2 separate regions of the Homo sapiens genome follow, and region 1 is linked to region 2. The links are contacts of gene promoters, found by promoter capture Hi-C in human tissues and cell types (Jung and others, 2019). All regions are on one chromosome and are shown on one strand. The core of a region is centred on a gene start or on the middle of the fragment in contact, and the rest is flanking DNA. Distances in the headings are between cores, read along the strand shown.

Evidence for each region. Contacts are between HindIII fragments. The study calls those that stand out against the background at their distance.
Region 1: a fragment that was not itself captured here is called in contact with the fragment with the promoter of SLC17A6 in region 2 in 1 of the 25 tissues and cell types used here (adrenal gland).

The regions. Positions count from the first base shown.
Region 1 is chr11:22,371,393-22,376,314 of GRCh38, reverse strand. It overlaps SLC17A6 (solute carrier family 17 member 6), which reads right to left. Exons shown (of 12, transcript NM_020346.3): 9 at 1,428-1,560; 10 at 223-333. Among named protein-coding and RNA genes, the nearest start is that of SLC17A6, 35 kb to the right of the region's middle. The HindIII fragment of the contact is 8,185 bases long and covers 1-4,922 here.
Region 2 is chr11:22,336,827-22,341,520 of GRCh38, reverse strand. SLC17A6 (solute carrier family 17 member 6) reads right to left here and starts at 3,140. Exons shown (of 12, transcript NM_020346.3): 1 at 2,902-3,140. The coding sequence starts at 2,987. SLC17A6-DT (SLC17A6 divergent transcript) reads left to right here and starts at 3,299. Exons shown (of 4, transcript NR_186351.1): 1 at 3,299-3,526. The HindIII fragment of the contact is 11,384 bases long and covers 1-4,694 here.

The DNA.
Region 1 (4,922 bases), core at 295-2,794, 36 kb before region 2:
ACAACAACAAAAAAAGGCAGTCCAGGAGGAAATTGAGTATTAACAAATCTAAATGTTTTCTCAATATTTTATTTTTTTCATTTTCTAGTGGAAATATTTGACTATTATTCAACATATAGAATATATATATGAAGATATCTATAAAAAGGTATATGTATGTGTCTTTTATCAGCAGTCAAAATCAGAATGTCCCAAGTACAAAGAAAAAAAATTATATCTTACCAGATATAGCAAATCCACTGAATCCCACTGCAAGTACCAAGAATGAGATTGCTACCCCTCTAGTATGAGAATAGCCAACGACCAGGAGCAGTGTGGCTTCCATGCCAAAACCTTCAGAAGCAAACACATAGAAATTCTTCAGAAATTTTTGAAATTTTACCAATGAGCCAAAACTGCTAAAAATGTTCCAACTTATTGACCTAGAAATTCCACTTCAGAGAGTCTATCTTCAAAACTAATAATAATCATAATAATCATAATAATTTACCCTAGAGATTCATGAAGCTTTCCTTGTGTTTAATAAAAACATCCAGGCCAGATGCGGTGGCTCATGTCTGTAATCCCAGAACTTTGAGAGGCCGAGGCGGGCAGATCACCCTAGGTCAGGAGTTCGAGGCCAGTCTGACCAACATGGAGAAACCCAGACTCTACTAAAAATACAAAATTAGCTGGGTGTGGTGGCACATGCCTGTAAACCCAGCTACTTGGGAGGCTGAGGCAAGAGAATCGCTTGAACCCGGGAGGCGGGGGTTGTGGTGAGCCGAGATCATGCCATCGCACTCCAGCCTGGGCAACAAGAGTGAAACTCCATCTCAAAAACACAAAAACAAACAAAGAAAAACATCCAAAACAACCTAAAGTTTCAATGATTGGAAGAGGTGAGTTAGTTACAATAAATACAAATGGCATTATTATTTATTTTTTTTATTTTTATTTTTTGAGACGGAGTTTCACTCTTGTCACCCAGGCTGGAGTGCAATGGTGTGATCTCGGCTCACTGCAACCTCTGCCTCCAAGGTTCAAGCAATTCTCCTGCCTCAGTCTTCCAAGTAGCTGGACTTACAGGCACTCACCACCATGCCCAGCTAATTTTTTGTGTTTTTAGTCGAGATGGGGTTTCACTATATTGGCCAGGCTGGTCTTGAACTCCTGACCTCGTGATCCACCCACCTTGGCCTCCCAAAGTGCTGGGATTACAGGCATGAGCCACCGTGCCTGGCCACAAATGGCATTATTAAGCAGTTACTTAAAACTAGGAGTTATGAAAAATTTGATGTAATATGAGGAAGTTATTTTAAGTGAATAATGAAGGCACAAATGTAACTGCATCTAAGTAATTTGATATGTGTAGAAAAAGTTATTCTCTCATGTAGGTTAAACTGATTGAACTAAAAACATGTCCTTAGTGCCACTTATGTACTTACCACCACAATTCATGATCTTTCTCACTGTCGTAGTTGAAAGAATCTGCTTGCTTCTTAGAAAATCTGCAATTTGTCCCCCAATAGGCACAATAATTGTCATTACTAAGTGTGGCACAGCAGATAGCATACCAACCTGATGAAAAACAAGAAGGGAGAGAAATAGACATAACCATAAATAATATGGGCAATTTAATGGCCTTTGTTTCTGAATCTGTCATCACATCTTTATGGACAAAGGAAGGAAAAATAATCTTTCCAAATGATCACTTACTCATTCCTAGAAAAAGTAATGCCTTCCACAGAATAAATTAGAAAAGCTAAATTTACTTGGATTCCTTTAGAAGGTAATTTTTTTTTTTTTGCCACGTAATGCATCAGTAAATTTTGAGTATGAATCAACTCTTCTGATATTGTTAAATGTGTTTGCACGAATACACCCTTAGTGAAAGAGAGGAAAAGTGGTGAGAGAGAGAGAGAGGAAAAATACATTTGTCACATCCTGAAGAAGCTGTATTTTAAATTCATGTTTAATTCATATGGGAAAAATGCATATTTGCACTTTAAATATATATATCATGAGTTTTATAGCACAGACATAATTTCTATAGAGTAAGATCCCAGGTAATGCAGATAATTTCTTCAATTTTAAGTATTTTCTGTGTCAAATATCAATACTTGATCACATTTTTGTATGGTGGCATATAGTTTCTGAATTAATTTCATGCTAAATAGCCTAATTTAAAACTTTACGCACCAAGATCAGTTAAACACATATTTTTACCATTACTTACACACAAAGCACTGTGTTGTAAGCATTATGGGGACAGTAAGTATACATAAAATGCATTTGAATTATGTATTACCGCATACGTGGACTTAATAAACTTTGAATGTAAACACATAAGGAAGTTTTTTACTAAGTATACTTTGAAGAACAATTGTTGGCAGATGGCATTCATAATTTGTGTTTAAGTATGTCTTTCCAATTAGATTATCGAAGGTTTGAGACAAAGATTCCATTTTATTTTACACTGGTGTATAGTAAGGTATCACAATCATGGATTTGAGTTGTAATAATTAATTGAGACAGTAAATGACTCCACAGTAGGTTAACTGTTCAGGCTATAGAATGATCTCTTCCATCCCAGATGGATGATTTTAATAGTGTTCTTATTAAATAAAAAAAATTTAGAGTCAGAAGACTTAAGTGATTGTGAGAGCCAAGTTTTGAATCAGTTCTACGTGAGTCGAAAGACTGGGCTCTTAGCCTTTATGCTGAGCACCACTGCCATGAGAAGGAAAAATCAAATAAAATCAGACAATATATATTAATGTGCTTAGTCTAGTACAAAACTTGGTATGTAGCAGGGGCTCAACAGGTACCTAAATAAAGATGTCAGGTAAACTGACATTAAAAAAAAAAATCATTATTGCTTTTGAGACTAGCATCCTGAGAAAAGTACAAGGCTTTTTATTCTTAATATGGAGTAAATATATTTCAAGCAGTCAATGTGTAGAAAGAAACCTTTGAACAACAACAAAAACATTCTGAAAGACACTATGTTAGGATTTGTATAGAATTACATGGCATATTTTTGGCATTTATAAAGGCAGGCTAAAAGTTTGGGAGTAACCACATTGCCTAAGTCCACATAAACGACTTTCATTCTGACCCAGTATTTAATACATCTGAAAAGTTTTTTAATTGAAAATCCTCTGTTATTTACTATCTATTTGAACAATCATTTTGACTACTTTGGATAAGAAAGGAACAAAGCTATGGTTATTTTTTCACACTTTCAGCAAAGGGTGTGCAAAGCACTATGGAAAATGCAAGGTGCTAAAAATCTACAGGGTTAATGAGATAAGTTTTAGACTATTTTAGCATATTGATTTAACATTTAAGGGTATTGACTCTCCTATTTTCTTAATATGTGGATATACTCTGTATTTGACCTCAAAAGAGCCAAAGAGGTTTCAAGTTTTTGAGCTATTCAGTGGTCTTCTTGGCTTTTGGGGACTTATCATGAGTAATCACTTGACACATGATCAAAATGATCAAAACCTTCCTAAAGATCATTCATGTCAATCACATACAAGTGTGCTTATTATTTTAAGGTTTTGCAAGGCTAGGATAAATGTTTTTGAGCTTATAATTGATTTATTCTTCATAGAAACTCCAGGTAATTAGATTTTTGCCTCATCCTTCTTTTAGCTTTTCTGGGTCATAGTCTAGATCGTATGTCTTCCTATCTGATCCACGTCTTGTTCAGAAATAGCAGCAAAGCACAACCAGCCAACACTGTTCTTCTCCTCCCCTAAATAGGAAGCTCAAAAGGAATGGATGTCTATTCTCATTTGGCTTGCCCCTATAATCTGACCTTTGAAAGTGCTGGTTAATCCTAGCACTGACCCGCTGATATGCCATTTTCAAGGGCCTGAATATGTTACATATAAGCATAGGCTGATATAATATATTAAATTATATATATATATGTGTATGTGTGTATATATATATATACTTGTTTTAAAAAATGAAAAAAGTATTTACCTGATATATATTGTATTAGCCTATGCCAATATATAATGATATATATATGTATATCTCAGTTAACTAATACAATTAACATATAGCTAACTGATATAAAATCTATGTTACAATTTTATTTATATATACAGTGCTGTCTGAACTAAGTCAGTATACTTAGAATGAAGGTTAAGCCATTGCACTCATATTTTTTTCTGTAGGATACCCAATTTAACTAAAGTTGCAGAGAATGACCCTCCATGTAAATATTTTACTTACTTCACCTAAATTTGGCTGCACTTCTTAAATAATATCATTATCATTTAATGGTATTAAGTTAATACCATTATTTAGAGATAAGAAAATTGAAGCCGATAATTATTCAAAACGCTGCCCAAGATTATATACCAATACTTTGTTGTAGAACTTAGATTTGAAGCCATGTCAGTCTAGACCCAAAGCAAATTCCCTATGTTCTCCATCATCTCCTATACAATTTTTTCAGCTAAGTCAGAATTTTTTAAACTAATCTAATTAGTATCTGAAGACCAATCTGTGTGTGTGAATTTATCCACAATTTTATTTAAAAATATAACTAATGAATGAAATAAATCAACCCATCTGCTGGTTGATTTATAATTACTTTTTGCAAAATACCATTGCTTTTACTCAAGCATTCTCAATTAATTGGAGCTACAGGACCAAAATGACCACACAGTTTCATTAACATCAGTTGGCTTCCTCACTCTGCCCCCGAGAACTGGCTTTATTAATAGCCTGTCGGTATCATATTTGTCCTAGATTATGAAAATGGACGCACACCTCCAGCAGCCTTTGTTGAGAAGTATAACACCTCTCAGAGTTCCCAAAGGCTACCCTGGAATGTTTGATCAGCTCTAGAGAGAAGAGCTCTGTCTAAAGCAGCCATTCTTCTCGGGGATGGAGGAAACAGTTTCCTTAGAAACAGG
Region 2 (4,694 bases), core at 1,891-4,390:
GCAGAGCAGGGGCGAGTCAAGGACTTGGCGGCTTAGGTACCCCCGATGCTGACCCATTCCCATTTTTCAGGACCCGTCGGGGTTGGGAGGAGGGCCGTCGACCTCCCCCCACCCTCGGGGATTAGGGTGGTGGGGTGACACCAAGCTGCAAGACCTCCCAGGCTCTCTCACATTCTGCAGGTGCCCTTGGCCGCGGCGGCGGCGTCTCTTCAACTTTAACACCTTTAGGCCTAAGGTAGCGAGTCCCCATCTCGGGATCCACCCCTGGGCGCTCTGATTGAGATACACAGGCCGCTTGGGCCTAACTTTCTTGCAGGATCTGCAGGGTCTGCATTTTGTGAGGGCAGGGGTTACCAGCGCCTCCTCTGCACCTGAGTAGGCGCCTCCCACTCCTACACGCGCCCAGCAGGGCTTTACCCTGACTACCGCGGTGTCCTCCTGCAACACAGCACCAGAGAGCTGCTCCGCTGCAGGCGGGCCCAACTAGAGAGCCTTTCCCACCCGCGCTGCCTTTTCCGTTTCTAGCAAGTTGAAGCTTTCCAGGTTGACGATGCTGGTATTCCGCTCCCCAATCCACCCCCTGAGCTGAGCCTGGAGCACCCCCTGGACTAAGGCCTCTCTAGGCTAGTGCCTGTGCGTGAGGAGAAGGCCTGAGAGCTCTCGCTGAGAGTGTCATGCACTCTCCTTCCCCTTCATCCCGCCCCAGGGCTCTAGTTCAATGCTTACTCCCCTGTTACACTTCTTACTATTTTTTTTTTCTTATTACTCGAGTTGGAGACAAAGGGCTCCACAGCATATGGCCGACACCTAAGCTTCCTACTGCCAGAACATGAATAATTAATTATTCACAATCTTGCGTCATTACTATCTCTCTTACAAACACCGAAAAATGTCAAGGGTCCATTTCCCAAGACGCAAAATGCGACTCCCAGATATACAAAGGCTCCCCCAAATCAACTTTTGTAAGATATTCCACATCAAAGGGGAAGATCTCACTTAAATATTTGTTTTTGCATAGTGTTTCATAAGATTTCAACCATCAATTCATTTTTGGCTTTGGTCCTTGGGAGAAGGGACAAATGAAAAGGGGAATGCAGAGAAAAGGAATGGTTTTACTAAAAGGTGGTAGTGTTCTAGTCTACAACATATTCATGAAATTTCTATTAACAACAAACAAACAAAAGGAATGTATAAGGTAACATCTCTGTACGTAGCCCCTTGCGATTGATACTTTCGATATTTAAACAAAGAGCCTTTCCGTTTACAATTTGCAGATATTTTTTCCAATCTACCGTGTAATTGCTTTTCACCTGTGCTGTTTTAAGTGCTATGTGAACACCCAATTGTTTTCACACACACGGGTAAAGCAAGTGAAATTTTTAAACTAATTTCAAATATGCATAGCTTGGAATACTGCTGTCAAGAAGTTTGAGGCCACCCGAAGAAAAATGTCAGGCTTCCGAATTCTATAACGTAGCACCTGGAGAATAAGTCATAAAGGTATTTGTGGCTAGGTTAATGTTTATTCTTAAAGTCCGATCACAATGTTAGAAAACATTGCAATTTATTTTTACTGGGAGAAAAAAATTCAGCCAATGCGGTTTTTTTTTTTCATTTCCTGCATTTGCTTCGTGTGCTCAAATATACGAAGTTGAGCTCTGCACCGGATGGCAGTTGTACTGGGAAAGAACATCCCTTTCCATGGTAGCTGTGGGACTGCAGGGCCCTTGCGGTATCTACTGCCGCATAGGTGCATAATCGTGCCTACATGAAGCCCGCCAAACCTGAAGAGATTTGGAAAATCTGGGAGTGGTTTGATCATTTTCTTTACATTTCTCATGCATTTACAGAGACTTCAATTTCCCAAATATTAAAATTAGTGCTCCTTTGTAATTCTTTTTCCTTTTATGTCTGCCCTGTCGTCTTGATTTTGCTCTAATTATTAAGAAAAGCTGTATCCATATAACATACTTGAAATGATTTAAAGTTTTGCAAATTACAGCATAATTAGTATAGTGACTACAGGAGGATTAAATAATTAAATCATTTCTAGGACTTTCAAAGTAATGTTGCTTGTTATATTTATGGCTGTTCTTCCAGGCATTGACATTTCCTATGCAAGAAATAGACTCTAGGAGATGAAAATAATTAAAAATGCATATACATTGTTTCAGGCTCAGAGAAAGGAATTGCTTCAACTATCAATTATTGATATATTTTGATTCTTCTTCATTCAATACAGAAGACATATTTCACTAGGGGATTCTCTACTATGCTTTTGAAGCTGAGACCTCTCTCTTTCTCTCTCTCTCTAACATATATATATATATATATATATAAAACATATATATATAACATATATATATAACTATATATAACATATATATATAACATATATATATAACATATATATATAACATATATATATAACATATATATATAACATATATATATATATAAACCATTACTCTTTGGAATTTCTTGGTTATTTTTTTAGATGGTTGTGTTTTATATTCATTTGTCTGCATCAAAGGAATTTAATTCGGGGTATCTATAAGCACCAAAAGAAACGCTGTTTGAGCAGGGGCTGGCCATTTCTTAACTGTAAAGAAGATAAATCCTGTGTAGTAAAGGACAAAAACTCTGCAGGCACCAAAGCAAAAATCAAACACACACACACACACACACACACACACACACACACACACCAGACAGGTTCATTTAGTGCAACATTCCTGCATTAATAAGCAGGTTTCCAGAGCACCCCCGCTCCAAGCAATGGGCAACAAAAAGACTTTCCGATCATATTACAATCTTTCTGAGCCACCAGGGTTTACGGAAACGGCCCTGCAGATTTTTTCATGCTGAGCCCCAGGTAAGCAAGTGTTCGCTTTGTCTTACCTGTAGATCTGGCCGAGTGATTTTCCAGCAAAATTCTTTAGCCCCTCTTTTCCTGGGGCCAAAATCCTTTGTTTTACGGATTCCATTCTTGCAAAGACTGTTGTCAGTTCTTGCCAGATTTAAATAGTGATTGCTAGGAAAGGCGAGGATTGCGCATATTGTCTTAATCTCTTAAAGTAGTTGCGGGCTTTTCCTTCTCAGCAGAATGGTAGTGGCTCGCCTCCAGCAAGAGTGAGAGTGAGAGAAGGGAGGGAGAGTGAGAATGAGAATACAACAGAATAGCTGCATGCAACCCACGGGTTTCCTAATAGGAGAGTTGGTAGACACAATCAGAAAGTCTCATTGGAAGGGGAGGATCCGGTGGCAAAGAGCGCAAGCAGTGCCACGGTATTTGGGTAGATGCGGTTGAGTCCTTTTCCTGGAAGTCGGTCAGCTGAAAAACAATGTAAATTCCCGGTTTTGAAGACTTATTGCTCTCAAATCTGATGGCTTTTAAACGGAGGGGCCGGAATATCACAGAAGCCTTGGGAACAGCAAAGTCAAAAGAATGGTACTTTTAAAAATGGTGTCTTTGCTGTAAGGAGCAGAGCATATTCAAAACTCATGGGAGCATCTCAGGTCTCAGGTGAGCAATGCTGCTATTAGTTTTTCCTCTCTGCCCATGATCTCCTCCCATCACGCCAGCGTAAGTCTGCTCTGCGGTAGAGTCAAATTAAGATGGAGAAGGCTTGCTGCTCTTTGAGGACGTGAGTAAATAAAAGATACACAGTTCTGATTTGGGCAGCCTCGGGGAAGATTTTTTTTTTCAGCGGCTGACAGCGCCCGTCTGGGCGGGTCTCGGTACAATGTTTCAGCACCACGGACAGAGTAAGTTTCAGGAATAGGGGACTCTTCTTTTGGCTAGCTAGGTTGCCAACTTTCTAGGGGAGCTGGGCGGATCGCCCTGACCAAGGACCATACGGGGGCTCTTCAGGAACGGATGCTATGGAAACCATTGGGAAGATGTCATCATCTCCAGAGTTTGCAGGGAGAATGGTGCATTTAGCTCTGCTAGGGAAGACAACTTTATTAAAAATTCACAAGTTACTTCTAGTTTGCTACGTTTTGTCCAGCACGCTGATGCCAGTATTGCAGGGAAGAAAGATTTCAACATATTTAACTTATGCTTGTGGTGTTCCAAGACACCTAGGCTCCCTTGAATATAAAATATGTGCACACAAAATACATAATTACATTGTTCATGTGTTTGTTTTAACTCCTGACAGGAAAAAGATGAAAGAAAGAAAGGGAGAGAATGAAGAATAGAGGAAAGGAGAGATAAAGAAAAAGAGGTGGGAGGTATGGAGAGAAGAAAAAAGAATAGCTATAAACTCAGTGAAGTTGATTAAATAAAATACAGTTAATTTAATATAAATTCCTTGGAATTTTAAGCATCTTTATTTAACTAATTTACAATACACTACTGAAATACCAATATACTGATGAAATATGTGGCTATACCTTGTGCTTGCCAACAAATTGTAATTGATAATTTAAAGATTTATTTTTAAAAAGATTTATTTTAATTTACATATATTCCATTCAAATCTTATTTTATTTTTCTTTGTATGTCCTTCTCCTAAAGCATAAATTTTGAAAGACATTCATGTAAGAGTTTTGGCTTTATATATACAGGTACAGCATCAATGAATTTATCTCATTAAGCAAGCAAGAAAACTGCTAGATTAATGTAAATTATTAATCTCTTTCACATGAATCACAAACTTCTTAAGTACAATTCAGGCCAATGCTTA